Regions from separate parts of the Homo sapiens genome. Here regions 1, 2 and 4 are each linked to region 3. The links are contacts of gene promoters, found by promoter capture Hi-C in blood cells and fetal thymus (Javierre and others, 2016). All regions are on one chromosome and are shown on one strand. The core of a region is centred on a gene start or on the middle of the fragment in contact, and the rest is flanking DNA. Distances in the headings are between cores, read along the strand shown. Region 1 has its middle 8.7 kb from the start of NR3C1. Region 2 overlaps NR3C1 (nuclear receptor subfamily 3 group C member 1). Region 3 holds the start of HMHB1 (histocompatibility minor HB-1). Region 4 overlaps NR3C1 (nuclear receptor subfamily 3 group C member 1).

Region 1 (6,974 bases), core at 2,638-5,137, 400 kb after region 3:
CATTTTTAAAATGAGCCCAATAATGTAGCACTTTTGGGTGCTTGATAATTGTTGCAAATCACATTTGCCTGAGAAATTTCAATTCTATAATAATTGTACAATAGCAGAAAGATCTAGATACAAAAATATTCATTGCAGCATGGCTTGCAATAGTGAAAAATTGAAAACAATTTACATATACTTCAATAAGGAAAGGTTAAAACAATGGTATACTATGCTACTATTACCTGAAAATATTGAAAAGATGAAAAGATGTCCAATAACATTTGATGAATAAAGGTTGAAAAATACATGTAGTAAAATCTCATTTTTGTTTTTAAAAAACATATATGCATGCATGCATCCATGTATAGACAAAAAGGATTTGAAAATATACAATAAATTATAGTTAATCACATTTACCTTATGGTACTGCAGAACATCAGAACTCATTCCTCTTATCTAGCTGTAATTTTGTAATCGTTAACTAATCTCTCCCCATCCTCCCCTTCCCCCTGCCCTTCCCAGCCTCTGATAGTCACAATTCTACTTTCTATTTCACATAATAAAAGTTTTTAAAGAGGGGAATAATGGGGTGGGGGATCTGGAATATACATAAAAACTCAAAAATAATTACAAATTTGTTGCCATCAAAATATAAAAAGAAAAAAATAGTTACATCTGCAAAATGGGATTGTGTGAGGAAGTTTTTACCTTTATACATTTCTACCTTCTGTATGTTTGGATTTTTACAATAAGTATGTGTTATTTTCTAGCATCTTTTGAAGTTTTTTTCTTAAAGGCATAAGTAATATCTAAAGTTATTTTTCATCCTTCTAATGCCGTCTACACAAAGATAACGATTTTTCTTGGATGGCCCCAATCTCTCTTCTGTAAGATCTTTCCCCATTTGTCATATCCATAACTCATAACCTCCTCACCCTTCACTGCTCTCCATTTTCTCTATAAAGTGAGCCCAGTCAGTACTTGTAGGCTTGTTAAGCATTACTTCTAATAAGAAAGACTAACTTGTAAAGCAAATGTGGAAATGTACTAATATAGCATCAAGCACAAAATAGCCATTCAATAACCGAACTATTTAATTCCTTTTTTTTCACACTTCATCCTTTCCCTAATTCCAGAAAGAACTTGAACTGGGTCATAACAAAGACAAATTTAGACAGACAGATAAAGATATCTCATAGGTAGAAATAAAACTGAGTGATTATAAACTAATCACAGGAGGCTCTGTTAGTCTGATGAACAGAAACACACGTGATAAAATCACAGAGAGGTAAAATAGAAAATGAAAATCAGGATCAAGAAAAGGGAAATAAAAATATGCTGGACATCATTCAATAACTATTTGCTGATGGTAATTATAGGGATGGAAAACCCATCAGGCCTATGGAGCTAAAATTAATCAGCAAGTATTCACAGAGTGCCTACTGCTTCTATTACTGGTTCTGGCTTCCTGCCTGCCCAGTGCAGAGGCTTGAGACATTTGCGTGACATTCAGCTTGTCAAGACAGAAGGAGCAAAATAAGCAGACAGAGGCTCACTGCAGCCGCCTATACCCATCATATTGTTGGAATCATATTCAAGTGAGACAAACTCCTTCAGTGGAAGACGATAAAACTAGCTTAAAAGTTGTAAACATCACTTCATCACCCAAAAAAGGCCCAATTAAGTGGAGATACTATTTCTGCAAAGCAATCATCAATTCATTTGTGTAACATTTGAAATTTCAAAGTACAAACCCACATTCTATTAAAGGCAGGAAGTGAAACCAATAAAACTTGTAACAACTATACTTAATTTTCAGGGTTCTTTCCATTGCTGACAAACATTTTAAGTCATGTCTATTCTCTTAAAATGTAAAATATGATGTTTATGTCACTGTTAATATTTTGATAAAAAGCTATTGTCATGGACATCTGGGTTTTTTTCTGCATGCCCAGAAATCCCTTTTCTCCTATTTAAATTTAAAATCTCCAATTATTTGGAGAAGCACCTCCTCTTCTCTCTCTTTCATTTGTACCCCATTCTTAGGTGTCAGTGGTGGGCACTTGAGCTAGGCTTTGCCCATCATAGTACACATTCCTGACATCCCTTGGTCATAGTTATTGGTCCAGGGATAAGCATTTGAACCAACTAGACCAGTGAAACCCCTCCCAGGAACAACTACTAAAATTATGGGAAAAGAACTCTTTCCACTGAAGTTACTAACCTGGCAGGATGTGTTAAATCCAGGTGCCACAGGCCACCAGGTGGAGAGGTGGAGATAATCTTTCCAGAAAACAAAACAAAACAAAACAGGAAAATGAAGCTAAGGGATAAAATTTAAGCCCTTTGGACTTCATTTGAGCCCCTGAATCCAGTCATGCCTCCTGAAATTAAACTTCCCCTGGACTTTTCAGTGAATCAAAAAACTCTGTTTTTAACAGTGGGGTTTCTTATAAATGCACCAAAAAATGACCTAATGAATGTTGTCTACAAGCTTCCATTAGAAGTATTATCTTCAAGAGAAAAAAAAAACAAATAACTTGAAGAAAACCCTTCATAATTCAAGTCAGTCCTGCTAACCTCTAGGAAACCCTCCGTGACCACCATCTCCATATCCACACCCATTTTCCTAACCTTAAACACCAGATGACTTCTTGAAGCTTATGAAGTGCCCTATGCATCTAACACATTTCTGTAAGTCTGCATTGTTCTATAATGACTTGTAACCGTATCTGTCTCCATTTCCTCCAGAGAAGAGATTGTTATCATTTTGATATCCCTGCAGCCTTATACTGGGGCCTAACATATAATAGTTGCTATTTTGTTGAAGGAATTGTATTTTGTTGAAGGAATTCTCTTTTGTTGAAGGAATGAATGGAGAGAATATTAATTAAGAAAGTCTCTTCTATTAATAAACATTCCCTGATTGATTGAAACCATGCCTAAAATAGCTAATCATCAGAAGACCAAAGTAAACAACATATCCAAACTGAATCCTCAAAGTGTTAGTCATTGGTAGCTGTATAGCTGAGAATCTTTCCTTCTTCTGGTCATTAGGGTTGAAAGGGTGGGTGAATGTGGAGACATGATTCTTTCTTTTGCAAAACATTTACTATTTTTTAAACTCCATAAAATGTAATAACTTCTCTTGAAAAATGTTAAAACCCAAACAAAAAAACCTGTAATGTGGAATATAGATTGTAGGTTATAATGGAGGAAGCAGGGAAAGTGGGGAAAACTGTGGTTGCCAGAAGTTTTCTGATAACTAATAGGCAAGACAATAGGGTGGCTTTTGGTAGGGTCCTTCTTTATGGCATAGCAAAGAAAAATAGGAATGAAGAAGTGAGAAGCATGAAAGGGGACAGCAATATATGTGTAACACAGGGTGATTCAGTGTGAGAGTTTTATAATTAAAATTGCCAAATGTGAGAAAAAAAAATCTACTATAAATTGGGATAGGCTCAAGGCATGGAGATGAACAAATAACCCCTCCATGTGGGCAAAAATCAATGAAATTACTAGATGAGTAGCTTAGTATGTGAGTTCCAGTTGCAACATGTTACTGGTATTTGGGGCTTCCCCTCCCCCCTCCCCCCCTGCACTTTGAGGCAATTCGACATTTGACTAACAATCCAGCCTAACTTTCTCCATCTGATATAAAGATATTTACCTTGAAATCCTAGAACTGCCAACATCTCCTACTTCCTACTACAACCCTCCCTGACTCCTTTTCTCTGGCACAGCTTTCTATGCACTCACCCCATTCAACTAAGCCTGCTTACTCTTCACCAGAAGGTCTTCTCTTAGCATAAAAAGTTCCTGGAAGTCCATCTCTTTCATAGAGCTGCTGGATGACTGCTTTGCTTACCTTTGGCCTTCAAAATACCTCTCCTGTCCAACCATAGCTCCCCAGCTCCCCTGCCATTGCAACCAATACAAACTTCGTCATCTTTCCTTGGGCCAATGTGCCTGTCTCCTCACTGCTCTCCCTGCTTTCTCCCTTAGCCCCTACAACTCATACTCCACATCGCAAGCAGAACGAGCTTTTCAAATAGTAAATTAGATTATGTCCATTAGTGTGTTAGTAAATGTTTAACAGCTCCTGAGGGGAACAGAGTATCTATGTGTTTTATAATTTTTACATATATGTATCACATAATTTACAAAAAGCAAGAAAAAATATAACACTCTTAATAGTAAATTCTATATGGCCATGTGATTTTCACAGAACCATTTCAGTGATTTTTGCAGAATATTTGTGTCCATAGCCAACCTACAGCTAAAATTCAAACACGTTTGGCAAAATCAGACCACAAATAAATATCTGATTAATATCCAATCAGCAAAGAAGTCATTCATGGTACTGAAGTCCCAACATGAATGTTGGTTGATATTTTTACATTAATGAGCGAGATAAAAGTGAAGCAACAAAAATGGATGTTGGAACTAAACTCGTTCATTAATGACAGAAGTGACTTCTTTTGCTGATAATAGCTTTCAAGTACTAGAAAAATATTTCCTCAAGTTTTTGTGTTCACAAACTAAGGCACTTTTAAGTTCAATCTTCATTATTAAAATTTCTTCTACTCTGTCAGTCTAGACAATCAACAAAACAAATCAAGCTCTGGTTTGTCATGTTTCCCAATTTCTATAGTATAGGTACTCCACCATGGTTGATTTCAAACTACCAAAATAACATTTCTGAATGCAGCGTTAGGAAGGGATACGCTGCATCATACCATCGTATGGTATGTTCTTATACAGAACAGACAGAAATAACTTTAAGAACATAGATAATAGTAAAATGGAGTAAAATAATTAGGCAGTAAAGTCTTCAGCATTTATTTTTGTTGTTAAAATATTTGATTGTGAGTTTATAAATAATTTGGTTTTTAATAATGACTGTGATTAACAACCAACTTACAAAATCTCTGAAAATTTAACAGTCAGTGCTTGCAAGCTGGTACAATTGTTTCCGGTGCACTACTGAATTATCACTCCCCTGCCTAAAATTCCAGACTGCCCATTGCACTGATTCCCTGGGAAATAAGTGAAAAGAGACAATGATAATTTTCATTTTTGTTGTGGTGAAGTGATAGTGCAAAAATTCCATAAGCTCCTCTAAGTTTTCCAAATAAAGCTTAGTGTTTAAAAACGTTTGAACACATGATCCCATGTAAGGCCTACATTACTTCCTGTGTGATAGGTGGGGTAGATATCATTATCCTTCCTTTACAGATTGAAAAACAAGGCTGAGAAAAATCAAATGCCTACCCCAGGCTCATTCAAGTAAGTAAATGGCAGAATAGGGTCTAAAAACCAGGTCTTGTATTGAAAATTCAACAAGAGGATAGAGAAAATTTAATTGACAAATACTGATCTCAAAACAATTTTTTTTTCAATGGTGACAAATGTCCTTTGTAGCACTTTGGAGTTTGATATGAAGTATCTTCTTATCTTGTTAAGGGATCCCTATACCAAGAATGTTTTCATCTCAACCCCACTATTTCTAAGTTAGCTTAAAAACAAAACAAAACCCTGTGTGCTCTAATAAGAAGATATAAGAACCAAAATGGAAATGCAGGTTCTCAAATGAGCTGAAAGATTCCACATAGCAGCGGGGCAGATTGAAACACTCTTTACCAAAGGAACATGGGAGAGAAAAGGAGATTAAATCAAGAAAGGAAGAAAGCTAATGACATATGAGGAGCCACAAATGCCACAAATGAAAAAACAAAGTACGTAATACTTGTTGCAATTATTCAGTGTGCTTGCTCTAATGCCTCCAAACATTAAAAACATTGAGTTCCTGCTTATGGCAACATTTATCTCATTTATCTGCTGATAGCTGCCTCATCCTTGAATCAGGTATTGCTTAAACTAAGTTCTGCCAGCATAAAGAATAAAGTCAACCAGGACACCCATTGGGCATTTCACGCATATGAGCACAAATTGTGATATTTTAGGTTGCTTATGATGAAATCATTGAAAGCATCATGAAAGACAGCAAAACAGCAGGAAAGCTAGTAATAATTTAGCATTTCCCAGTCCAGGCGGGAATGTTAATTCTAATTACAACGAGGAATACCAAAGTGGAGTTCATTATGATTAAGAACTTGCTGTACTAGTGTGAATTGTTTATAATAGGCATGTCTGGCATAAAATACAAATATTGAAGCAGACAGAGATGGCTCATTCAAAGCTCAGCTGGGTTCCCTTGAACCTCTTACCTTATAAAGTTAAATAGGAATAGAAGTATTTTCCAAAGTCAAGATATTATTTTAAAGAGACAAATAATAGCTATGATAGCTGCAGGAATAATTTTTTAAAGTAAGTTCTAACCACCAATAAAAGCTGTTTGTGTGGGCTTAACATGTTCAAAATACACAATACACATGTACACAATACACGTATACATGGTTCCCATTTATATTTAACATCACACATTTAAAGTGAGAGAGTACAGAAAAAAAGAATAAATGGAAACTGAAGCCATGACAAAGAATCACGGACTATAGGAAAATAAGTCACAAAGAAGTATGCTTATGTAAGAGGAAATATATGTGATAAACAACAGGAGACATGGGAATGAATGTGGTGTCTTATGTCCTTTCTTTAACAGAATCGTGTAACAGACACTACTCAATATCGATCTCAACTGATCCAGTTCTCCAGTCTCCCTGGAAAACAATGGATTGATGCCCAGGGTGCGCTGAACACTGGAACCATGGTCACTTCTGCACTTCACACGATTCTGCTCCCACCAGTTGAGCTACCAACAGTTCCTGGTGCTTTTGCTTCCCAAACATGTTTATGCCATTTGTTGCTTATTACTGTACTTACTTAATTTGATTAAATATTAAGTAAAATGATGAAATGAGTGTAAAAAATTGTTCTATAAAATCTAAATGGAAAGATGCCCTATAGCCTTCCTTGACTTACAGTTGCGTCAAGTAAGGTGGATGTAAGACAATTTTAAAAGACTGGTG
Region 2 (7,295 bases), core at 3,761-6,260, 480 kb after region 3:
TTATGCTACATTTCAGAAATCATAATAACCTTTTCTGGTATTATTTTATTCTTTTTCGCACTGTGAGAAAAATTAAACTTTCAAGTGGATGCTTCTTATAAACTATTTATACCCTTTTGCTCCCTTTTGGGAGGCAGGGACAGGGACAGAGTTCCTCCTCAGGCTAACTAAGAAAACTTACTGCTTCCAATGTAATTTAAAAGATCTCCCTCTTTCTATTGCTCTCTGTACTCTTAATTCTTTTTTTTTTTTTTCACAGCAGAGACAAGTGAACATTTATTTTTATGCCTTTCTTCCTATGTGTATTTCAAGTCTTTATCAAAACAAGGCCCCAGGACTCTCCAGATTCAATTATGTCCTTGGGCTTGGTCGACTGCTGTAGGAGTCTCAGGGAGCCTTCTACAAATGCTAGAGTGACTCATTTACCAACATTAAACCCTAGGATACATGCAACAAAGCAGGACTCCTTCCTCCATGGAATGTGCCGATTTCAGATGACACAGCACCCAATGTAGAAAACGCTGGAATTTTTCCTTGGAACTAGACTGTGATGAGAGGTGCTTGACATGAACATAAGCTACTGTCTTTTCTTTTTTTTTGAGACAGAGTTTCGCTTGTTGCCCAGGCTGGAGTGCAATGGCGTGATCTCAGCTCACTGCAACTTCCACCTCCCAGGTTCAAGCGATTCTCCTGCCTCAGCCTCCTGAGTAGCTGGGATTACAGGCACGTGCCACCATGCCCGGCTAATTTTTGTATTTTTAGTAGAGATGGCATTTCTCCATGTTGGTCAGGCTGGTCTCGAACTCCCAACCTCAGGTGATCTGCCTGCCTCAGCCTCCCAAAGTGTTGGGATTACAGGCATGAGCCACCACGACCGGCCAGCTACTGTCTTTTCTTTGACCCTTCCTTTCCAGTTTTTGAAGATAAAGCAGGAAATAATCTTCTCTGAAGATACTTGATAAAAATTCCCAAAACAACAAAACGCATGCTTCCACTTCACTGATAAAAAATTTACCGCAGTTTGTCACCTAAGAGTATGACAACAGCAATAAAAAGTAATTTCAAAAAGTTAAGATTTCTTCAGCAAAATAGATGATTCACATCTTCAAGTCCTTTTTGAAATCAGTTATTAATATTATTCTTTCCCCATTTCCATCTGAATGACTGCAGCAATAGTTTTTTGTTTGTTTGTTTGTTTGTTTGTTTGTTTTTTGAGATGGAGTCTCGCTCTGTCGCCCAGCTGGAGTGCACTGGCGCAATCTTGGCTCACTGCAGTCTCTGCCTCCTGGGTTCAAGCGATTTTCCTGCCTTAGCCTCTCGAGTAGCTGGGACTACAGGCACGTGCCACCACACCCAGCTCATTTTTGTATTTTTAGTAGAGACAGGGTTTCACCATGTTGGCCAGGATGGTCTCAATCTCCTGACCTCATGGTCTGCCCGCCTTGGCCTCCCAAAGTGCTGGGATTACAGGCGTGAGCCACCGCGCCCGGCCAGCAATACAGTTTTTAGTTACTCGACATCTTTAAGCCTATAACTCTTAGGCTATGCATAGCCCCATGTCCTAATCAGGCATTCACTGATCCCAGCAGGTCTCCATCTATTTGTACCAGCCTCCTCTTTCCTCCCAATCTCAAGGTTACTCTTAAATACTAGTAAATGCAAAAAGAACTTGTAAAGTGGCAAGGCATGGCCTATCAAAAGTCAGCCCAAGGGCAGTTTTCAGCCCTGCCTCACCTGGGTCTAGTTCAGCTGACGGATGAGCTGATTGATGCGTTCACCCCGATAGCCAGGTGTGCCCATCTCCTTGAGGAAGCCCACTCTATTTTTGGTAGCATGATGGGCCACTGAGAGGTGGAAAGGGCGCAAGAACCATGAGATCTCCTGGAAATGCTTCCCTGGGAAGGCAATTTCATGAATGAGGTCTTCCAAGCAAATGAAGCCAAACTTCCCCAGGTGCTCCTCAATCACTGTGTTGTCTGTCAGAGGGATGGTCTTATTCTTGACCTTGGCTTGTCCACGTTTCAAAATGAGTTCTCGGACAGACTTCAGATTTGGAAATCCCCAGGTCACATAAGGTTCCACTATATGCAGCATTTTTAGATTCTAGGGGGTAACTTTTACAAAGATACCACTAAAAATTTTCTTTAGGCGAAGTCTTGCAGTGGTTCTCTGCACCCGTAAACTCACGCCATCAATCCTTTCGATGCGTACAACAAAGGCCAAGGAATGTTTATCTGGCAATTCCAAGGCATGAGGTTTCACTTCTAGTCGTCTGAGACGCACCTTGTCACGTTTCTGCCGCCAGGAATCATGTAGGAATGATTCCAGTCGCTTAAACCTGAGCCCTTTTCCTTTCTTCTGTCTTGCTACTGCCATCTTTCTAGTGGTGCAGCTACTCAATTCTTTTTTTAATTATAATTTTTATTTTAAGTTCCAGGGTACATGTGCAGGATGTGCAGGTTACATAGGTAAACATGTGGCCATGGTGGTTTGCTGTACCTATCAACTCATCAGGTATTAAGCCCGGCATGCGTTAGCTATTTTTCCTAATGCTGTCCCGCCCCCCCACCCAACGGGCCCCAGTTACACTCTTAATCCTTATAGCTCAGATGTTATGATCCACAGTGTGGTTCTTACAGAAAGTTATGGATTAAAAAAAAAAAAAAACACTCAAAGTGCCCGAACTTTCTTAAAATAATCCTGGTACAGCTAAACTCATGCACTGACTGTCCACCTAATATTTAACAGTCTGTGTTGTGATATATTGTTTTAATGTTCTGAATGCTTGTCAGCTTTCAGTATTGAAGATGTGAATCATTTATCAGCAATGACACATTTAGTCTAAGGTTGTCAGCTATTTATGCTACAAATTAATGACTTGTCCTTAAAATATCAATTTTGTGATTCATGTTTTGGCAGGTGGTTAGATGTTTTGTGTTCTAATTTTAAACTATGGATAAAGGTTTTGTCATAATCATTGTTTTATTGGTTCCTTTTCTCCCCTGCCCACTCCCCAAAAAACCCTGCAATTCTTTTTTGTTAAACTTTTATTTTAGGTTCAGAGGTACATGTGCAGGTTTGTTATATAGGCAAATTTTGTGCCACAGGGGTTTGCTGTACAGATTATTTCATCACCCAGGAAATAAACACAGTACTTGATGGATAGGTTTTTAGTCTTCATTCTCTTCCCACCCTCAAGTAGGCCCCAGTGTCTGTCCTTCCCTTCTTTGTGTCCCTGTGTACTCAATGTTTAGTTCCTAGTTATAACTGAGAAGAACATGTGGTATTTGGTTTTCTATTCCTGTGTTAGTTTGCTTAGGATAATGGCTGCCAGCTCCATCCATGTTGCCGCAAAGGACATGATTTCATTCTTTTTATCGCTGTGTAGAATTCCATGGTGTATATGTACCACATTTTCTTTATGCAGTCTTCTGTTGATGGGCTTTTAGGTTGATTCTATGTCTTTGCTATTGTGAGTAGTACTGCAGTGAACATACACATGCATGCGTCTTTATGGTAGAATCATTTATATTCCTCTGGGTATATACCCAGTGATGGGATTGCTGGGTCGAATGGTAGTTCTGTTTTAAGTTCTTTGAGAAATCATCAAACTGCTTTCCACAATGGCTGGATTAATTTACACTTCCACCAGGAGTGTATAAGCATTTCCCTTTCTCTGCAACCTCACCAGGATCTATTATTTTCTGACTTTTTAATAATAGCTGTTCTGACTGGTGTGAGATGGTATCCCAGCACCATTTATTGAATAGGGAGTCCTTTCCCCATTACTTGTTTTTGTTGACTTTGTTGAAGATTGGATGGTTTTAAGTGTGTGGTCTTATTTCTGGGCTCTATTCTGTTGCATTGGTCTATGTGTCTGTTTTGTACCAATACCATGCTGTTTTGGTTACTTTAGCCTTGTAGTAGTTTGAAGTCGGGTAATACGGTGCCTCCAGCTTTGTTCTTTTGGCTTAGGATTGCTTTGGCTATTTGTGCCCTTTTTTGATTCTATATGAATTTTAAAATAGTTTTTTTCTAATTCTGTGATGAATGTCATTGGTATTTTGAGAGCAATAGCACTGAACCCGCTAATTGCTTTGGGCAGTATGGCGATTTTAACAATATCGATTCTTTCTATCCCCTGCAATTCTTTGTTGTTGTATTTAACTATTTTTACTTGTGAAGTTTTTTCAGGGATGATTTTGTTGAAAGTGACAACTCTAAAAATTATGTTGGTAATTAAAATTTTAAGTAATGACTTTTATTTTCAGAGATTCCACTTCTCTTAGACTTTGGAGCTGTTAACAGCAGTGTCCAATCTGCAGTGGTACTCAGCAGTTTCTGTTTCCTGCATGCAGAACTGCTTATATGAAAACACAGTTTTAAAAATGCTTTCTTATGGCTGACATTCACATTCTTATTCCTTTTGATTCTTTTCAAGAGGGATTTGGTTTGTTAAAATTAATTTTTGCAATACTTTTATGAAGATACAAACTCTGACAAAGCTTTTAAAACAAGTTTGAGAGAATACAGTATTGATTTCACTTGTAAATCTGACGATTATTTTAGAAAAAAGGAAAATATTATTTACTATTATTTTGCTTATAAATGTTTATCAATTTTAAAGCTTCCACATTGCACATCTCCCACTACAACAGTAGCTACCATTTATTCTTTCTCAAAAAAAGTGCTAAGTGTGCCCTTGAAATTTTTACATTGTGCAGAATATCCCTAAAATTTTAAAACAAAAATTACATCATCACTTGCTTTAAATGTTTCTTCTTTATTTAACATACAGTTTCTAAAATGTTAGCAAATAGCATTTTAGAAGAGACACGTTACTTTTCTAATGAATGTTCTAAAATGAACCACAGTAACCTATACTTACTTAGACTGTGAAAAACAAAACTTATATTCTATTGTTAAATTTTCAAAAGTGAAACTACACGATAGTTTACTTGGCACATCACTCTGTTATTGTGAATTGACAAATGTATATGTAGACAAATATGTGAAAATCAGAGTACATATACATTATATGCAGCACCACAATACATTTTTTAGTATGTTTTGACTGATATTTAATTATATAATTTACCAAGAGGATCTCACCAGAATGTAGAAAAGTATTGAATTTTAGAACAATTCACATATTTAAAAAAAATGTAGTCAGCCCTTTTATCTGTATCTGGAGAATGCAGGGTAAAGGAATAATACATGAGTATTGGTATTTAAAAAAAGGTGTTAATTTCTTACCTATGATACCTGTTACTTTGGGTATCATTTAACCTTTATTTCTGTGAAATAGAGGAGTTCTAACATCCTCTAATTATTATAATATTGTTCTAATTTAATCTATCTTAATCTGTGATACAGTTTGAAAACCAAGCTTTTACTATTGGCATGTGCAAAAAAATAAAGCAGCAGTAGACTTGGAATCTTGAATGCAAATTTAGATTTTGCCTCTTAATAAATGTATAATATAGTGTTCTGGGACCAATTCTCTAACATTTCTGAGTCCTAGTTTCTGCATCTGTCAAATGGGATTAGAGATACCTACTTTCAGGATGTGATATGGTTTGGCTCTGTGTCCCCACCCAAATCTTATCTTGAATTGTAATCCCCATATATTGAGGGAGGGACCTGGTGTGAGGTGTTTGGATCATGGAAGTGATTTCCTCCATGCTGTTCTCGTGATAGTGTGGGAGATCGCAAAACATCTGATGGTTTAAATATGGCAGTTTCCCCTGTGCTTTCTCTCTCTCCTGCCACCATGTAAGACTTTCCTTGCTTCCTCTTTGCCTTCTGCCATGATTGTATGTTTCTTGAGGCCTCCCCAGCTATGCAGAACTATGAGTAAATTAAACCTCCCTTATAAATTACCCAGTCTCAGATATTCTTTATAGTAGTGTAAAAACTGACTAATACAGAGAATTGGTACTGGCAGGGTTGGGTACTGCTATAAAGATAATCTGAAAATGCGGAAGTGACTTTGGAACTGGGTAACAGGCAGTGGTTAGAACAGTTTGGAGGGCTCAGAAGAAAACTGGAAGATATAGGAAAGTTTGGAACGTCCTAGAGACTTGTTTTGAATACTTTTGACCAAAATGCTGATAGTGACGTGGACAATGAAGTCCAGGCTGAAATGGTCCCAGAGATGAGGAACTTATTGGGAACTGGAGCAAAGGTTATTTTTGCTATGCTTTAGCAAAAAGACTGGCAGCATTTTACCCCTGCCCTAGAGAACTGATGAACTTTGAGATGATTTAGGGTATTTGGCAGAAGAAAATTTCTAAGCAGCAAAGCATCCTAGTGGTGACTTGGCTGATTCTGAAAGCGTTCAGTCATGTGCATTCACGAAGATATGGTCTGAAATTGGAACTTAGGTTTAGAAGTGAAGCAGAACATAAAGGTTTGGAAAATTTGCAGCCTGACCATGTAGTAGAAAAGAAAACCCCATTTTCTGGGGAGGAATTCAAGCCAGCTGCAGAAATCTGAATAAGTAACAAGGAGTAATAAGTAATAATAAGTAAAAAGTAATAAGTAATAAGTAACAAGGAGCCAAATGTTAATAACCAAGACAATGGAGAAAATGTCTCCAGGGCATGGCAGAGATCTTCGGGGCAGCCCCTCCCATCACAGGCCTGAGAACTAGGAGGGAAAAATGGTTTCCTGCTCAGGGCCTTGCTGCTCTGTACAGCCTCACGACATGGTGCCCTGCATCCCTGATGCTCCAGCTCCAGCTGTGGCTGTAAGGGGCCAAGTTACAGCTCGCACCATTGCTTCAGAGGGTGCAAGCCCCAAGCTTTGGCAGCTTTCACGTGGTGTTGGGCCTGCAGGTGCGCAGAAGACAAGAGTTGAGGTTTGGGAACCTGTGCCTATATTTAAGAGGATGTATAGAAACGCCTGGATGTCCAGGCAGAAGTCTGCCATGGAGGCAGAGCCTTCATGGAGAACCTCTGCTAGGGCAATGCGGAAGGGAAATATGGGGTTGGATCCCTCATACAGAGTCCCCACTGGGGCACTACCTAGTGGAGCTGTGAGAAGAGGGCCTCTGTCCTCCAGGCCCCAGAAAGGTAGATTCACCGACAGTTTGCAGTATACGTCTGGAAAAGCCACAGAATGCCAGCCTGTGAAAGCCACAGGGGTACCCTGCTGAGCCACAGGGGCGGAGCTGCCCAAGGGTATGAAAGCCCACCCCTTACTTCAGTGTGCCCTGAATGTGAGACATGGAGTCAAAGGAGATTTTGGAGCTTTTAGATTTAAGGGCTGCCCAGCTGGGTTTCAGATTTCAT
Region 3 (7,827 bases), core at 558-3,057:
AATTTGCAATAGTGTTACTCATAGTAACACATAAAAATATGAAAATATCATGTGCCATATTTGCCTCTGCACTGAGTTATATCTGTACTTCTGCTTCAATACTGTAATTGGCCATCTCATTTCTATTGCCTATGGAGCAAAAGTCTGAAATAAAAAAGGTATGTTCATATTTATTACTTATATTTTTTTCCTTGCAAAATGACAATCTGGAGATAAAAAAAGTTAATTTTATAATTCACATCCTTACAAAAGAATTTTATTTGTTATTCTTCCAAAGGAAATCCACATGCCATTTACTTTATCTCTCACCAATAAAAAAAAATATGGACTGCTCATGAGACTGACAATGTCTTTCTTCATTTGAGTTTCTGAGTTAAGGAAACAAGGATGGAAACAGTTGACTTATGCTGGCCCCAACAAATGCCCTTTCCATTTTTTACTTTTCAGTTCAGCTAACATTTATTGACAGCTTTTACTGTGCCAAGCACTGTGCTAGATGCCAAGGATACAGAAATGATTAAAACACAGTTCCTTCCCTCAAGAATCCCATGCTCTGATGGAGGAGGCGAACAAGTGCTTTAGGCCAAAATGTAAAACTATGAGGGCACCAAAAAGGGAGTGGTTTATTTTGCCTGGAAAGAAATAAAACCTTCATAGAAGAGGTGACATTTGAAAGGGGCCTTGAAGGAAAAAAGGGAAGGTCGGTAGTTGTCTGTATGAAACAATAAAACAGCATAAAAATTCTAAAAGAAAGTTCTGTTTGTATTCTGTGGGCTACCTGTGCAACTGGATCTGAGCATTCCCTGGGGTGGCTGAGGGGGCTGTGTGGACCAGACAGAGCACAGGCTTCCCCGGCCTCATCAGTCCAGGCTGAGTGACCTCCAGTTGCAGGAAGGAGAAAACAGCAGATCCCTTCAGTGCACGGCACCAACACCTCCTATAACGTCAACCCAGGGCTCCGTGTGTCCTCTTCAAGAGGAGAAAACAAGACAAAAAAACAAACAAACAAACAAAAAACACGACAGCAGGGCCTTTCTGCCATTTCCTGGCTCTGAAATGAGGTTAGTGAGTTAAGGAATGAAGCCATCGTGTCTTTATCTGTAAACTGGGGAAAGCTATACCCCCCTCAAGTGCTTCTGTGAGGATGAAAGAGAGAAATGCATGCAAAGCCCCCGGCACATGATCCTAAGAAGTGGGAGCATGGCGATGATGGTGATGATGGTGGCCATGCTAAGGATAAAGGACGGGTCTGGTCTCTGGGCTGCCTTGGGAAGCCTGAGCATCCCACGCGGTGGGCAAGAACAATGTGATCTTGGCTACCCTGGCTCCGACCCAGAGGGACTTCCTGCCCATCTGCACTTCCCTTGCCGTTGTCCTTGTGGCTCAGGTGGTGCAGGCAGCTGCTCCAACTGCTGCCTCTGGTGCCCTGACAGCTGCAGGCAGCCAGGCAATGGGCTATGAAACCGAACCTCAACTGGAAACTATCCGCCCTAAATAATCCCAGCAACAAGGGCCGTCTCACTCCTCTCCCCTGCCTTCCGCCATCCCTGTTTTCACCTGTTGTGGTTTCCCTCTCATTCCACCAGCATTTTCTTTCATTTTCTCTGCCCCTTCGCTGCCTCTTTCCCTCTCTCTCTGTTCTCCCTCCTCCTCGCTCCCTCACCTCTTTTTTCTTCTCTGCATTCTGGCTGCTCCTCCAGTTCTGGTTTCTCCACTGTGGTGTGGCAGAGGATGTGAGGTCAGAAGGCTCAGGGCCTGCCCGGCTTCTGAGATGCGGGGCAAGCCGCCTCGGCCTCCTGGGATGTGGTTTCCTCATCTGCAGAATTGGACCAGAATGACTCTGGAGTGTTCCTTCCGTTCTAAACTCCCGTTCTGTTACATTGTGTTGTGTTAGCCTTTGTGCCTGCTTTTCCTGCTTCAGCTGTCTCATCTGTCCACCTGCCTCTTCCATCTGCATCCCACCACTCGGGTCCAAGCTGCCAGCATCCCTTGCAAGGACCCCTAGAGCAGCCTCCTGCTATTGGAGGTCTCTCTGCTCCTGTTCTTATCCACATCCAATGTGTTATCCACACAGAATCCACAGTGACCTTATCAAAATAGAGATGAGATTGCTCACTCAGCTTAAATCCTCCAAACTCCTTTACACCCCTTTTCTATCATAGGTCCCTGTTTATGTTCTTCAGAGTAATTATTATTGCCTGAAATTATCTTTATTTACTCATGAATTTCTTAATGTTGATGTATCATTTGCTGTCTGTCTTCCACACTAGAATGCAGGCTCCAGGAGTGATGGACTTGATTGTCTCGTTTACTCCATATCCTCACTGGAGGGGCCAGCGCCTTTATTCTCTCCATAAACACTGAATGAAGGAACCTCCCTTTGCCGCAGAATCCATCTCTCCCCTTCTTGAGAGTATTCTCTCCTAACCACACCATTTCTTACTTAGAAATACCTGTGCCTGCCAGAAATCCTGCCCATCCTTCTCTGTCATTTCTGATATAATTCCCCTCATTCACTTTTCTCAGTCAGCCGGGTCCTGTGTTCCCATGGGCTATGGTAAAGAACAATGGCAATGATGAAGCTAGTTCTTCTTTCACTTTAATGTCAATCTGTGCCGTTGGATGCCTTAAGATAAAATAACTTAACAACTCTGAGACTTGAATCTAGTTAATTGTCTTACAATGCTGAGAAAGAGACTTCTTTAAGAAAATATATTAAAACTTCCAAAATTCTGTGCTTGGTTCTTGGGGAGATGTTAGGAGTAGCCATTTTCTTTAAAACACCTCTTTAAAGTAGGTAATGTTAATATGTCCATTTTACAGGTAACAAAACTGGGATTTAGAGAGTGCACAACTGGACAAGGCCATAGAGCCAGAGGTGCATGGAGCCAGGATTTGAATGGAAGAAGTGCAACGCCAGACCCAGGCACCTAGCCACCACATGGGTGACCCTAGTCACCCTCTCACTCCCTAGATTAGATTACTCTGCATTATTTTCACCATAACACTTATAAATACCTGATGCGATCATATTTCTTGTGTCTATTTGCTTCCATTATAACATAAACTCCATCCAGGCAGTTACCATATCTGACCTGTTCACTGCACTTATTCCAATACTTACAATAGTGCCTCATACATAATGGACGTTCAATAAATATTTGCTAAATGAATTAGTTATTTGCATATTGAGGATGAGATATGAAAGAAGGCCTGATAATTCTGTATATAAAACTCCATCTTAGCCAGGCACTGTGGCTCACACCTGTAATTCCCAGCACTTTGGGAGGCCAAGGCAGCAGGATCGCTTGAGCCCAGGAGTTTGAAACCAGCCTGGTCAACATAGACCTCATCCCCACACAAAAAAAAATAATAAATAAAAAATAAAAAATTAGCCAGGCACGGTGGTGCATACATGTAGCCTCAGTTACTCAGGAGGCTGAGGCCAGAGGATCAATTGAGCCCAGGAGTTTGAGGCTGCAGTAAGCCATGATCACTCCAATAATGCACCCCAACCTGGATGACAGAGAAAGACTGGGTCTGTAAAAAACAAAAACCATCTTCTTTGATGATGGAATTTTCTCAAAAGTATCTTCAGTGTTGGCATATCTTTTTCCTTTGAGAATGCATTGGCTTTTTGCAATTAGCCAAAACTGTTAAAGACTGCTTTTTTGTCAAAAAGAACATATGGTCATAAAGCATCATCACTGCTTTTCTTGCCCTGAAATTAGATCTATTTGTGGAGGTGTGGAGGTCTAACTTTCTGTGCTTTGGGAAGCTTATGCACTCTGGTAAGGCCCCTGGACTCTGTCTCAGAATCATCATTTTTATAAGTATAAAAGAAAATATATAGAATTATAAAGAGCCAATTATATTGAATACAGTTATCAAAATGTTAAAAATTGTGACATAGTAACATATTTTCTTCTTTAATAACATATTAAATAAGAAGATCTAAAAATGTCTAATATCAACCTGGGAATGATATTTACAGATATCTGCAAAAACTAAAATGTGTTATGAAAATAACAGAATTAAATTAGACTCAGAATTTTCACTGGTAACAAAAATTTAGGTATTACTATTGCTTTCATAATTAAAGGAAACTTTAACTTTCTATTTTTCCTTTTTTTTTTTTTTTTTGAGACGGAGTCTTGCTCTGTCGCCCAGGCTGGAGTGCAGTGGCACAATCTCGGCTCACTGCAAGCTCCACCTCCTGGGTTCATGCCATTCTCCTGCCTCAGCCTCCTGAGTAGCTGGGACTACAGGCACCCGCCACCACGCCCGGCTAATTTTTTGTATTTTTAGTGGAGACGGGGTTTCACCATGTTAGCCAGGATGGTCTTAATCTCCTGCCCTTGTGATCCGCCTGCCTCGGCCTCCCAAAGTGCTGGGATTACAGGCTTGAGCTACCGCGCCTGGCCAGGAAACTTTAACTTTCATAAAGAGGTTAGTACAAAGAAAGATATAATTTTTCCTGCCCAGATTTACAGGCCTCTGAATCTTATCCACAGACTCCATGGACCCCAAATTTTAAAACCCTATATTAGAGAAATCCAGAATAGGTTCAGCAGTAGCAGCTACATTTAAGTAAGTGTATTACCTCTTAAGGTGACCTTAAACAGGTTATTCTTTACATGGTGTATAAGTTCTGACATACATGGTTATTTTTAAAATTCAGCACCACTTTTAAACCTACTGTAAACCTTTTAAAATTTTAAATTATTTAATTTTAAATTAATTTTTAAAATTAAAGATTTTAAATTAAGTTGTTAAAATTCAGCATCACTTTATACCTACCAATAGCGGGCATAGTTATAATCATTTTAATCTGTTTGCTTATTCTGTATCTACATATATATGATATAATATTCTGAAAACTTTTAATCCTTGACTATTATAAATTTATAAATTTTATTGGTAGATTTTATTTTATATTTTTAATTTGGTCCTCCTCTTTTATCTTTTCTTGTTTATTTTGACCAACATCTCCCTAACCCCTTTCCCAAATTTATTGATTTTTACATATTAATTTAAAACAGTTCATGCAGTCACATAATCCAAAAGTTCAAAAGGTATAAACGTACAGAAAATCTCCTTCTATCTCTGTCCAGAGTCACCTGGGTCTCTTCCTTTAGGGCAACCAATATTAGTTTCTTATATATTCTTTCAGAGATGCTTGAGATATACAAGCTTGTAAATTGTAGCATATTATCCCCATGATTTTCCACGCTCTTTTTTTTCACTTACTTCTATGTCTACAAGTTAATTCTATATTGGTGCCTTAAAACCTTCTTCATTTGTTTTTGTGGCTGCATAGTCTATTGTAAGGATGTATCATAATTATTTAACCAGTCTCTTAGTGATGGGCATTTAAGTTTTGCTATTCGATTTGCTGTTTACTATCATGAAAATTATTTGCTATTAGAAAAAGAGAGAACAGCAAAAAGTATCATCTAAGATTGGAATTTTGTCATGGACACCCACATATGTGGGACTTAGAATCATGAACCCTAAATATAAGTAGGTGGCAAGAGATGTATACCATATAGAGGTTAATATAACATATTGAAAATCACAATATCATGGATAATACCCCAACAGGATAGAGAGGAAACACAGAAACGTCATCAACCCTTTCAGTGGTCTAGGCCAGGTTTAGCATTTTTCAGGACCTAAGAGGGGATAACTGAGGGCAGGTAGGATATCCCCAATTTGACAGGCCCCTTTGGAGGAAGCTTGAAAGTTTCAACGGAGCACATTTGTTTTGTTTTGTTTACTCTGGCTCTCAGGAACAGAGGCTTGAGTTAATAACACTCTTTGGTTCATGGCGCAATGTCATCAGTGGTCCATGGAGGTTCCTCTATTGTGCTTATTTATTCCCCTTAACCCCCATTTCTGTCTTTCATTGCCCCCCTCCCACATCATTCTAAATAAATGTGTTTAATGTGTATATTTTTATGTGCAAAATGGATATGATGATATTTTGTGCATGTGTGTGTATTTCAGATTTACAGCAATGATACTGGATTATAACTAATTCTATTTCTTCTTCCACCTCCACTATGTTGTATGGCCCCTCCGTGTTTCTACACAAACATCTAATTCATGGTCTCTAACTGCAGGGTGGTCACATCCATCACTTTGTATCCACCTGCTTTCTCAGTGAGGGACAGCCAGGGTGCCTCCTGCTCCTTGCCACCAGAAATTAAATTGCAGTTCACAACCTTGTACGTGGCCCCCTCTGGATCTGTGTGAGAATTTATCTGGTGTACATACCTGGGATAGAATTGCTAGGTTATACAATTATGTATACTTAGTTTGACTAATTACTGCCAGATTACTCCCCCAGATGGCTCCTCAGTCAGCAACAGCAGAACACCTGAGAGTCTTCCAGCCCCATATGTTTGCCAGCTCTTGAAATGATCTTGCTTTCAATTTTTTTTCCAGTCAAGTGATATATCATAATTATTTGCATTTGCATTTGTCTATTAGCAGATGATTTTGAGCATCTCTTCAATGCTTCTGGGTCTTTTCAAAGCACTCCTCTATAGATTGCCTGTTCCTACCCGTTGTCTGCACTTCTAGGGTTTCTGTCTTTTCCTTGTTGATGCTTAAGAATTTTTGATATTATATATTTTCCTAAATAATGTGTAAGAGTTTCTTGTCAATTTTAGATATGATTAATTCTTTTTCAATTTTCTCATCTGCCTGCTATCTTTGCCTTTCATTGAACCAAAATTCCTACTTTTAAAGTAATCATATTAATCTTTTTTAAAATGTATGGTTGTGCTTTTGATGTTCTGTTTAATAAATTTTTTCCACCCGAGTTAACAAAGATACTGTCCTACATTTTCTCCTATTATATTTCTCAATTTATCTTTTACATTTCAACACATCTGACTTCACCTGCATGTATAGTATTAGGAAGGGATTCAGTTTCATTTTTCTCCAAAGATAGTGAGACCTTTGAGCCAATGTGCTTGAAAGAAGCAGAAGCTGCAGGCTGGAAGAGATGGAAGAGAGGAGGGAAATAAGGTATCTGGGACCCACAGAGAAAGGTCATAGATGCAGAATCCAGAGGCTCCATGTGACCTACCCTAGGAGGCACTCCTCCATCTGTGGTCTGTAATGAAATACTGAAAAAACCAGCATGCAGCATACTTCTCTTACAAATAAAGCCGTTTGGAGGAATTTCCCAGCAGCATTGAAGTTCCGGTACATGGCTTTAAAAATATCCCCTGTACACAACAGAAGGACTTTCCCAAGTGGGAGGGAGAGTTGGGTGAGTAGGAAGAAAGGAAGCACCCAAGGGAGGCAGGCCAGAGCACACACAAGCAGGTAGCTGAGAATTGATTGCACTAAAGATGAGCCAGATGACAGAAAAATCAAAGAATTATTTCTGGTCCTCAAAGTTGAAAATCTACCCTTTTAGGAAAGGTAATTGGTTCCTTTCCAGTGTCTGAATCTTGAACATTCTTCTATTTCTAGTTTATTATCAACTGCCTGTGGTTAGACCAAGTGCTTATCAACCAATTAAAAAGGTCAAAGAAAAGCCCATGGAAAATGACCTAACCAAATTATCGGCAGATGTTTGATATTTCTAGACTTATGATATGCATATATTATAACAAATGCAAAGATGCCGGATTGTTTTAAAATTTTCTTCTTTGTAAATGGACCCGGCAGTCAGCCTTTCATTCTTCTGTGACTTTACCTCTACTAAGGAACCCGATCATAGCTGCAGAGAGGCTGTGAAATTGTCCTAAGACCATAGCTCAAGAAGGATAAGAAAAAAGAAAACCTCGGGGGAAAGAAAAAAAAGCA
Region 4 (7,537 bases), core at 3,968-6,467, 500 kb after region 3:
TGTGTCATGTAATATGAAATGCAATAATTAATTTTTCCTCCAGTAATAGAAAGATCACTGTTTCATTGGTTTATAAAAATATATCTTTATCATTAAATGTGGCAAAATGTTAAGACTTGGTGAATATTGGTGAAAAGTATATATCCATTGTACAATTCTTTCCAATTTTTTTTGAGATTGAAAATTTTTAAAACAACAAATTATCTTTTAAACAGCTAATAATCACTAGACCTGCACTCTTTGTGGTGAGACTATGAAAAATGTTAGAGACCTAGTAAGAGAAGCAGATTCACATTTCTGTCTTCTTCTTCAAGCCAAACAGTCATAGAGTGGAGTGGGCAGAATGGAACTCACTTTTGAAAGCCTAGTGCTTTGTCCAATCTTACTGCAAGCCAGACAGGAAGGTTATAGAAAATGTTTCTGGATCAGTCTTCTCTGAGTCATATGAAATTGTGGTTTCAGCCAAGATGACATTAGGAATTAGAGACATGGGACAAAAACTTTAAGATTGTAAAAAAATTTTGACTCTAGTAGGAAACATGGGTAGAATTGTAATGACACTTGATTGAATTTTAAAAGATGCCTGTATAAGATCTTAAAATTAGGAAAAAAATTATGGCCTAAGCAATTAAAGGCATAGGAGGCATCTTTTTGGGATGATGGAAATATCCTCTCTCCTGATTGTGATAGTAGTTACATGAATATTCATTTAACAAAAACCATAAATTATAGACTTAGAAAACAGTAAATGTTACTGTATGTGACACCTTAATAAACGTGATTATAAAAATAAATCCTAAGCATCTAAAAAAAAAAAAAAAAAGAAGAAGAAGTGAACCAGAACCACACCATTCTATTTTGGAGACACTTCAAAAGAAATGACCTCATTCTTAATTTTGTTTAAAGAAGAATATAACATGATTTGAATATATTTAGCTAGGATATTTTAGTGCCTGCTAGCACTTGAAGCCAGAGTTCACTGTGAGCATTCTGACTATGAAGTGAGAAGCTAAGAGAACTGTATTTTGATATTCCTTTGACAGTTAAATCATAACACTGTTCTTCCCCTTCTTTAGCCCCAGCATGAGACCAGATGTAAGCTCTCCTCCATCCAGCTCCTCAACAGCAACAACAGGACCACCTCCCAAACTCTGCCTGGTGTGCTCTGATGAAGCTTCAGGATGTCATTATGGAGTCTTAACTTGTGGAAGCTGTAAAGTTTTCTTCAAAAGAGCAGTGGAAGGTAGTGTGTGTTTTGAAGAGTTTATTTTTCCTCTACTTGGTTTTCATTTCTCAGGGTGGATTTTGAAATTTCCATTATATGCAAAGCCCATGAAAGGCTAAATATCAGTTAAGAGGGGAGAGGAGGGTGGCTCCTAGGTCCTCTAATGGGCAGGAAAGTATTTAAAACAACAATACAAAAAGATCTAGAATAAAATAGAAAAGTACAAGTTGATGTCTGGGAGTTTGGTCAGGGAGCATAAGGTAACACTATAAGAAAGTGCTATCATATGAAATGATGGTGTTAAGTTTGGGCATAACATAATGTTCATTGTATTAGAAACATGGGCTTTAACTTCCATAAGCTAATAGGTTTCAAAGTCACCAACTTTACTGGCCTGGCAAAAATGAGTCACAGTGAGAACTGTGACAGGAAAAAAAAAAGATATTCATTTCATTTCTTATTCATTTTTTTTTTCTATTAAGCCAGGGCACTGTGCTAAGTGGTATAAATACCAATAAGACCTGATCCTTACCCTCTGGGAAGTCACACTCCACTGAAGTGAAAGATGAGTTAACAATGACAAGGTACAGAGATTATAATATAGATGAGGGAGAGAGAAACTCGGCCTGAGGAGGTCAGGAAAGGTATTTTAGAGAAACTGATTTCACTATATAAATGTTGTATTAACACAAATCTTACTTTGTTATGGATTCAGACTGCTGACAGGGCAACAGCATTATCTCCCTAAAGAATGAGAAATTCATTCCATAGCAAATTTATTAGAAGAGAGTCTAAAATGTCCTAATACTACCAGTGACTCCTCTAGGAAAAAAATTGTCATATAATTTAGTTATTTCTAAAGCAGTTTGAAAGTAGCTTGGCCTAAAGCTCTGATTATATTAATTTTTTAAAGAAACAATTATTCATTCACTGTATGAGGATTATTATTATTTGTCTCATGTTGTGTTTGCATATCCATGAGAGTTAGATGAGTCATTTTCTTTTGTTTTACTTTTTAATACATTAGCAAATTATAAAATTACTCATATTACACCACAAAGATTACAAGGATGGCAGCTTTGGCCAGTGTAGTAGTCCCACCTATTGATTAGAGTCAAAAGTAAAGCCCAGCCCTGCTTTGTGCATTGCTCCTAATAAAGTGGATGTTACTTAACACATACGCAGAAGACAGAAGCGTCTTCGTGTCCTCACTTTACTCCTCACTTTCTTAACTGCTTAAGTATTTCCACGATATAAATGCAGTGATAATAATAATACGGACAGTCCCTGACTTAACGATTTTTCAACTTTTATGATGGTGGGAAAGTGATACGCATTCAGTATGGCTCCTCGACTTACAATGGGGTTGCCTCCAGATAAACCCATTGTGAATTGAAAATATCTTACACTTAGCACTCCATTCTTAATACCTGCTAGAATTATAGATTATCCCTCAAAATTGGCATAGTATAATATGGGTATCAGCAAGTTGTTGCACTTTATTCAGAGCTTTACACTAGGCAGGGGTGGGCTTTACTTTTGACTCTAATCAATAGGTGGGACTACTACACTAGCCAAAGCTGGCATCCTTGTGGTCTCTGTGGAGTAACGTGAGTAGCATTATAATTTACATCCCCCATAACAAATGATCCAAGAGAGTATGTGATCAATGCAGCAGAACTATTGTCTTTTATTATCTGATTTCACATGTAACATGCCATCACTTCTGCCATATTTTATTGGCCACACAGACCAATCTTGGTAAAGGACGGAAAGGGACTGCACAAGACCATGCATTCAAGGAGGCAGAGATCACTGGGGGCCATCTTGGGAGGCTGGCTACCACACCCACCATAAATAGAAAACCAGAATTATTTGCCAAAAATAGACTTTAACCACAAAAATGAATACCATATAAACAAAACAAAGTCACAAAATTTCAGCTGACTTGAAGACTCATCTTTCTATTAGTTAGAAAGGGAATTTACCAAGTAGTAGAAGACACAGGAACTCCAAAATAAGATATCTCATTGTCTTATCAGAAGGGTTGACAGGAAAATGGGCTGGGCACTGTGGCTCAAGGAAAATGGGCTGTGCACTGTGGCTCACACCTATTATCCCAGCAATTTGGGAGGCCAAGATGGGAGGATTGCTTGAGGCCTGGAGTTTGAGACCAGCCTGAGCAACATAACGAGACCCCGTCTCTACAGGAAAAAAAAAAAAAAAAAAAACGTTATCCAGGCATCGCACCTGTAGTCTCAGCTACTCAGGAAGCTAAAGCAGGAGATTCAGGCTGCAAAGAGCTATGACACACCACTGTACTCCAGCCTAGGCAACGTAGCAAGAACTTGTCTAAAAATAAATAAATAAATGAGTCAAGGAATGAATGAATGGATTGACAGGAAATGACTATTAGTTGTACGTGGCCATGTGTTATGAAATAGTGAATACTAGTTAAAACTCCTCATTTTATAGATAAGGAACAGATAGATAGACTTGTCCAACTTCATGCTAATAACCACAAAGGGCTATTTTTAACTTATGAAGGTACATTGCCTCTGATCCTATAGCTCAGAGTCTTAGCTGTGCACAAGACATACCTGGGATAAAGAAATCAAGATTGGCGTAATGTGCACATCCTGACATTTCAGTTGGATATAAACAAAACTTTGGAATTTTTCATTTTTAGCAGTGGGTGATTTTTTTTCTTTTTTTCTTCCAGTAACTGTAGGACAGTGATTTAGAGATTCCTTATAGGGTATAACTTTTTTGTATTATAACCACTTCATCAATAGATGTATCTGTTGATCGTACTTTTGATTTATAGGGGATAGAATTGGGTTAGTGCTTCCATTTTCTGTCCAAGTAAAGAAGCTAGGATATTTATAGAGTACAAAAAGAAATTGAAACAGCTGGTACAGATATTTGGCATTGGAGAGCAGCTCTGAACAAAGGTGAATTATAGTCTAGTGGTCAATTTTGTGGCCTATTCTTTACAAAGAATTGAACCTGATACAGTTAACCATCTACCCCAAACTATTATTTGTTTAAAACACAATCTATTGGCTGGGCGTGGTGGCTCATGCCTGTAATCCCAGCACATCGGGAGGCCGAGGCGGGTGGATCACGAGGTCCTGAGATCGAGACAATCCTAGCCAACATGGTGAAACCCTGTCTCTACTAAAAATATAAAAATTAGCCAGGCGTGGTGGCGTGCACCTGTAATCCCAGCTACTCGGGAGTCTGAGCCAGGAGAATTGCTTGAACCTGGGAGGCAGAGGTTGCAGTGAGGTCATGCCACTACACTACTACACTCCCAGCCTGGGCGACAGAGCGAGACTCCATCTCAAAAAAATAAAAATAAAAAAACATAATCTATCAAACTGTGTAAAACACAGTTTATCAAAAAAGTAGTTACCCTTGGTGGGTACTGGCTGGAATTGGGCAGAAAGGGGGCCTGTTGGGGTACTGTTCTGTTTCTTGATCTGAGAGCTGATTACATAAAGGTTCTTGGTTTGTAAAAATTTATTAAATGGTTCACTGATTTGTGTACTTTTTTTATATGTGAATACTGCAATAAGGTTTTTTATTGCACTGTTTTCAGTTTGTTGAACAGAAAAAGGGAGACTCTTTTTGTTGTTTTTGACCTCTCGACCTCATAATGGCAATGTAGGCAAGAACATTCCCTCAAGGCAATACCTGTGGGTGTCTTGGTTATATTCCACCGGAAACAAAGACAGAGGCTGTCCTTATAAAATATGTTTGAAGACCTGTGAAACTTTAATAGTGCCTTTTATTCCATATAGGACAGCACAATTACCTATGTGCTGGAAGGAATGATTGCATCATCGATAAAATTCGAAGAAAAAACTGCCCAGCATGCCGCTATCGAAAATGTCTTCAGGCTGGAATGAACCTGGAAGGTAATATAAATATCTGAAAGCAATTGTTTGTCTCTGTAGCTTATAAAAATTTATCATTTTACTTTTGAAGATACACGTAAGCAGATGTAATTAATGTAGTCAGTTCAGTATATATATGCTTGACTAGCATAATGTTACTGCCCAATAAAAATGGGAAATTTTTTTCATGAATATGTCATATTGTTTGTTTATCCACCAGTTCTTCTTACACACACTGAATTCAGTACAGCCAGACTATATACAAAGAAAGGAAATTATGTAATAATGAAACTTACACAACATGCAGCAACTTTATTATTCTTACTCCTTTTTTCAGCCTCAAAACTATTCCCTAGGGTTGGAAATGTTTCTGTATCAGACATATTTACATGTCCATTTTTCTGTTTGCCTTTTAAAAGCATACCTTTTACTTGGAGATCTGTGTTTTATTACAGATCTTCAAGCGGGGGGTGGTGGGAAAAAAAAAACCTCAAGGAAGAACTGGATGGGTTTTGTTTTGGTTTTCAAGTAAAGAAGAAACCTGGGCCGGGTGCAGTGGCTCACGCCTGTAATCCCCGAAGTTTGTGAGAATCCTTCTGTCTAGTTTTTATGTGAAGATATTACCTTTTCCACCGTAGGCCTCAAAGCGCTCCAAATATCCACTTGCAGATTCTATAAAATGAGTGTTTGAAAAACTGCTCAATCAAAAGAAACGTTCAACTCCATGACCTGAATGCACACAACAGTGAGAAGTTTCTGAGAAAGTTTCTTGGTCTCCCCGCACTTTGGGAGACCAAGGCAGGCGGATCACGAGGTCAAGAGATCAAGATCATCCTGGCTAACATGGTGAAACCCTGTCTCTGCTAAAAACACAAAAATTAGCGGAGCGTGGTGGTGTCACCTGTAGTCCCAGCTACTCAGGAGGCTGAGGCAGGAGAATCACTTGAACCCGGGAGGCAGAGGTTGCAGTGAGCCGAGATCACACCACTGTACTCCAGCTTGGCGACAGAGCAAGACTCCGTCTTGGAAAAAAAAAAAAAAAAAGAAACCTGAAACTAGTTATAAGTTAGAGTTTCATATCCCTGTTTATATAACAAGTTGTATAATTAACACTGATCTCAGCATTAAAAAATTTTCCTCTGAAAAAAGTTTGGAATTCTGCTGTGGTTGAAATTGCAAGTTCTGTGAAGGTAGTGGTGATCTCATAACACATATGCTTAGTATTTATTGTGAAATTAGCACTTTTATTCAACAAATATGCACCAACAAGGCAGTCACTAGGTATAAAATGAATAAAATAGTGCCTGTATTCAAGTAGTTTATCTGCTAGTTAGGTTGCAGAGTCAGTCACAAAATAGCATGGCACACCATAGAGGGCATAGGGCCACAGGAACAAGAGGAAGGTCACCTAATTCTGTCTTGGAAGTCAAGGAAGAAGTAACATTGAATTTTAAATCTATAAGCTGAGTAGGAATTAGATAGATGAAAAATAAGGGCAGAGACATGATCAGATTTGTATTTTACAAAGACTAATCTTACATGGAGAGACCAATTAAGTGAATATGGCAGTCCTCCAGATAAGAGATGGCAGTACTGAGAGAGAATGGAAACCATGTGGTTCCTTTTATGATTATGATGATTATTATTATTTTAGAGACAGAGTCTAACTCTTGTCACCCAGGCTGGAGTGCAGTGACATGAACATGGCTCACTGCAGCCTTGAACTCCTAGACTCAAGCCATCTTCCCACCCAGTAGGGCTACGGATGTACACTACCATGCCCAGCTGATTTTTTTTTAATTTTTGTTTTAATTTTTTGTAGAGACAAAGGGGTCTTGCTATGTTCCCAGGCTGGTGTCTAACTCCTGGCCTTAAGTGATCCTCCCAACGTGGCCTCCCAAAGTGCTGGTATTACAGGTGTGAGCCACTGCAACTGACCTATGTGGTTCTTTTGATAGGAGAGACTAATTGTTGGTGCTATCTAGCACACACTGTGTGTAGACATCTTGTTAAATAGAAAATAGATTTATGGGTATGACTATGAAGAGTCTAATTCCCCAAACCACACACACAACTCTATCTACGTTTGACCAGGCTATTTAAACTTAACTGCAGAGTGTCAGCATGTTAAACATTGATTTACATAAAATGATAGCTGCCCACTTTCTTGTAAATGTTATAAAAACTGTAGAGATTAACTAAAAAATGCACACAGAAGTTTGCTTTCAGTTCCACAAGGGTAGTTTATTTTTGTTATAAAAACAGTATTCCCCACTTTCTTAGATACCAGATCTCTGCCCAGATTTTACCCAGTTTCATCTTGCTGCTCTCTAATCTCCTATGTATGTAATATACTTTGACCATTTAAATATGTATTAAGACACTTGAGTTTTTAGTGCCCTTTGGTTTA

Evidence for each region. Contacts are between HindIII fragments. The CHiCAGO score rates a contact against its expected background, and 5 or more counts as called.
Region 1: a fragment that was not itself captured here is called in contact with the fragment with the promoter of HMHB1 in region 3 in 3 of 17 cell types (endothelial precursors, M2 macrophages and M0 macrophages); the score reaches 7.3 in endothelial precursors.
Region 2: a fragment that was not itself captured here is called in contact with the fragment with the promoter of HMHB1 in region 3 in 2 of 17 cell types (M1 macrophages and naive B cells); the score reaches 5.6 in M1 macrophages.
Region 4: a fragment that was not itself captured here is called in contact with the fragment with the promoter of HMHB1 in region 3 in 1 of 17 cell types (monocytes); the score reaches 5.9 in monocytes.

What each region holds. Positions count from the first base shown.
Region 1 is chr5:143,408,873-143,415,846 of GRCh38, reverse strand. It overlaps a transcript of NR3C1 not described here. Among named protein-coding and RNA genes, the nearest start is that of NR3C1, 8.7 kb to the right of the region's middle. The HindIII fragment of the contact is 2,480 bases long and covers 2,648-5,127 here.
Region 2 is chr5:143,327,685-143,334,979 of GRCh38, reverse strand. The region is part of intron 2 of NR3C1 (nuclear receptor subfamily 3 group C member 1); the gene reads left to right. It also overlaps the pseudogene RPL7P21. Among named protein-coding and RNA genes, the nearest start is that of NR3C1, 72 kb to the left of the region's middle. RefSeq lists an enhancer at 1-9. The HindIII fragment of the contact is 762 bases long and covers 4,630-5,391 here.
Region 3 is chr5:143,806,141-143,813,967 of GRCh38, reverse strand. It overlaps HMHB1 (histocompatibility minor HB-1), which reads right to left and starts at 1,807. Exons shown (of 2, transcript NM_021182.3): 1 at 1,664-1,807. The coding sequence starts at 1,700. RefSeq lists an enhancer at 7,134-7,203. The HindIII fragment of the contact is 5,854 bases long and covers 1-3,780 here.
Region 4 is chr5:143,307,708-143,315,244 of GRCh38, reverse strand. NR3C1 (nuclear receptor subfamily 3 group C member 1) reads left to right here. Exons shown (of 9, transcript NM_000176.3): 3 at 1,077-1,243; 4 at 5,032-5,148. Among named protein-coding and RNA genes, the nearest start is that of NR3C1, 92 kb to the left of the region's middle. The HindIII fragment of the contact is 8,081 bases long and covers 1,177-7,537 here.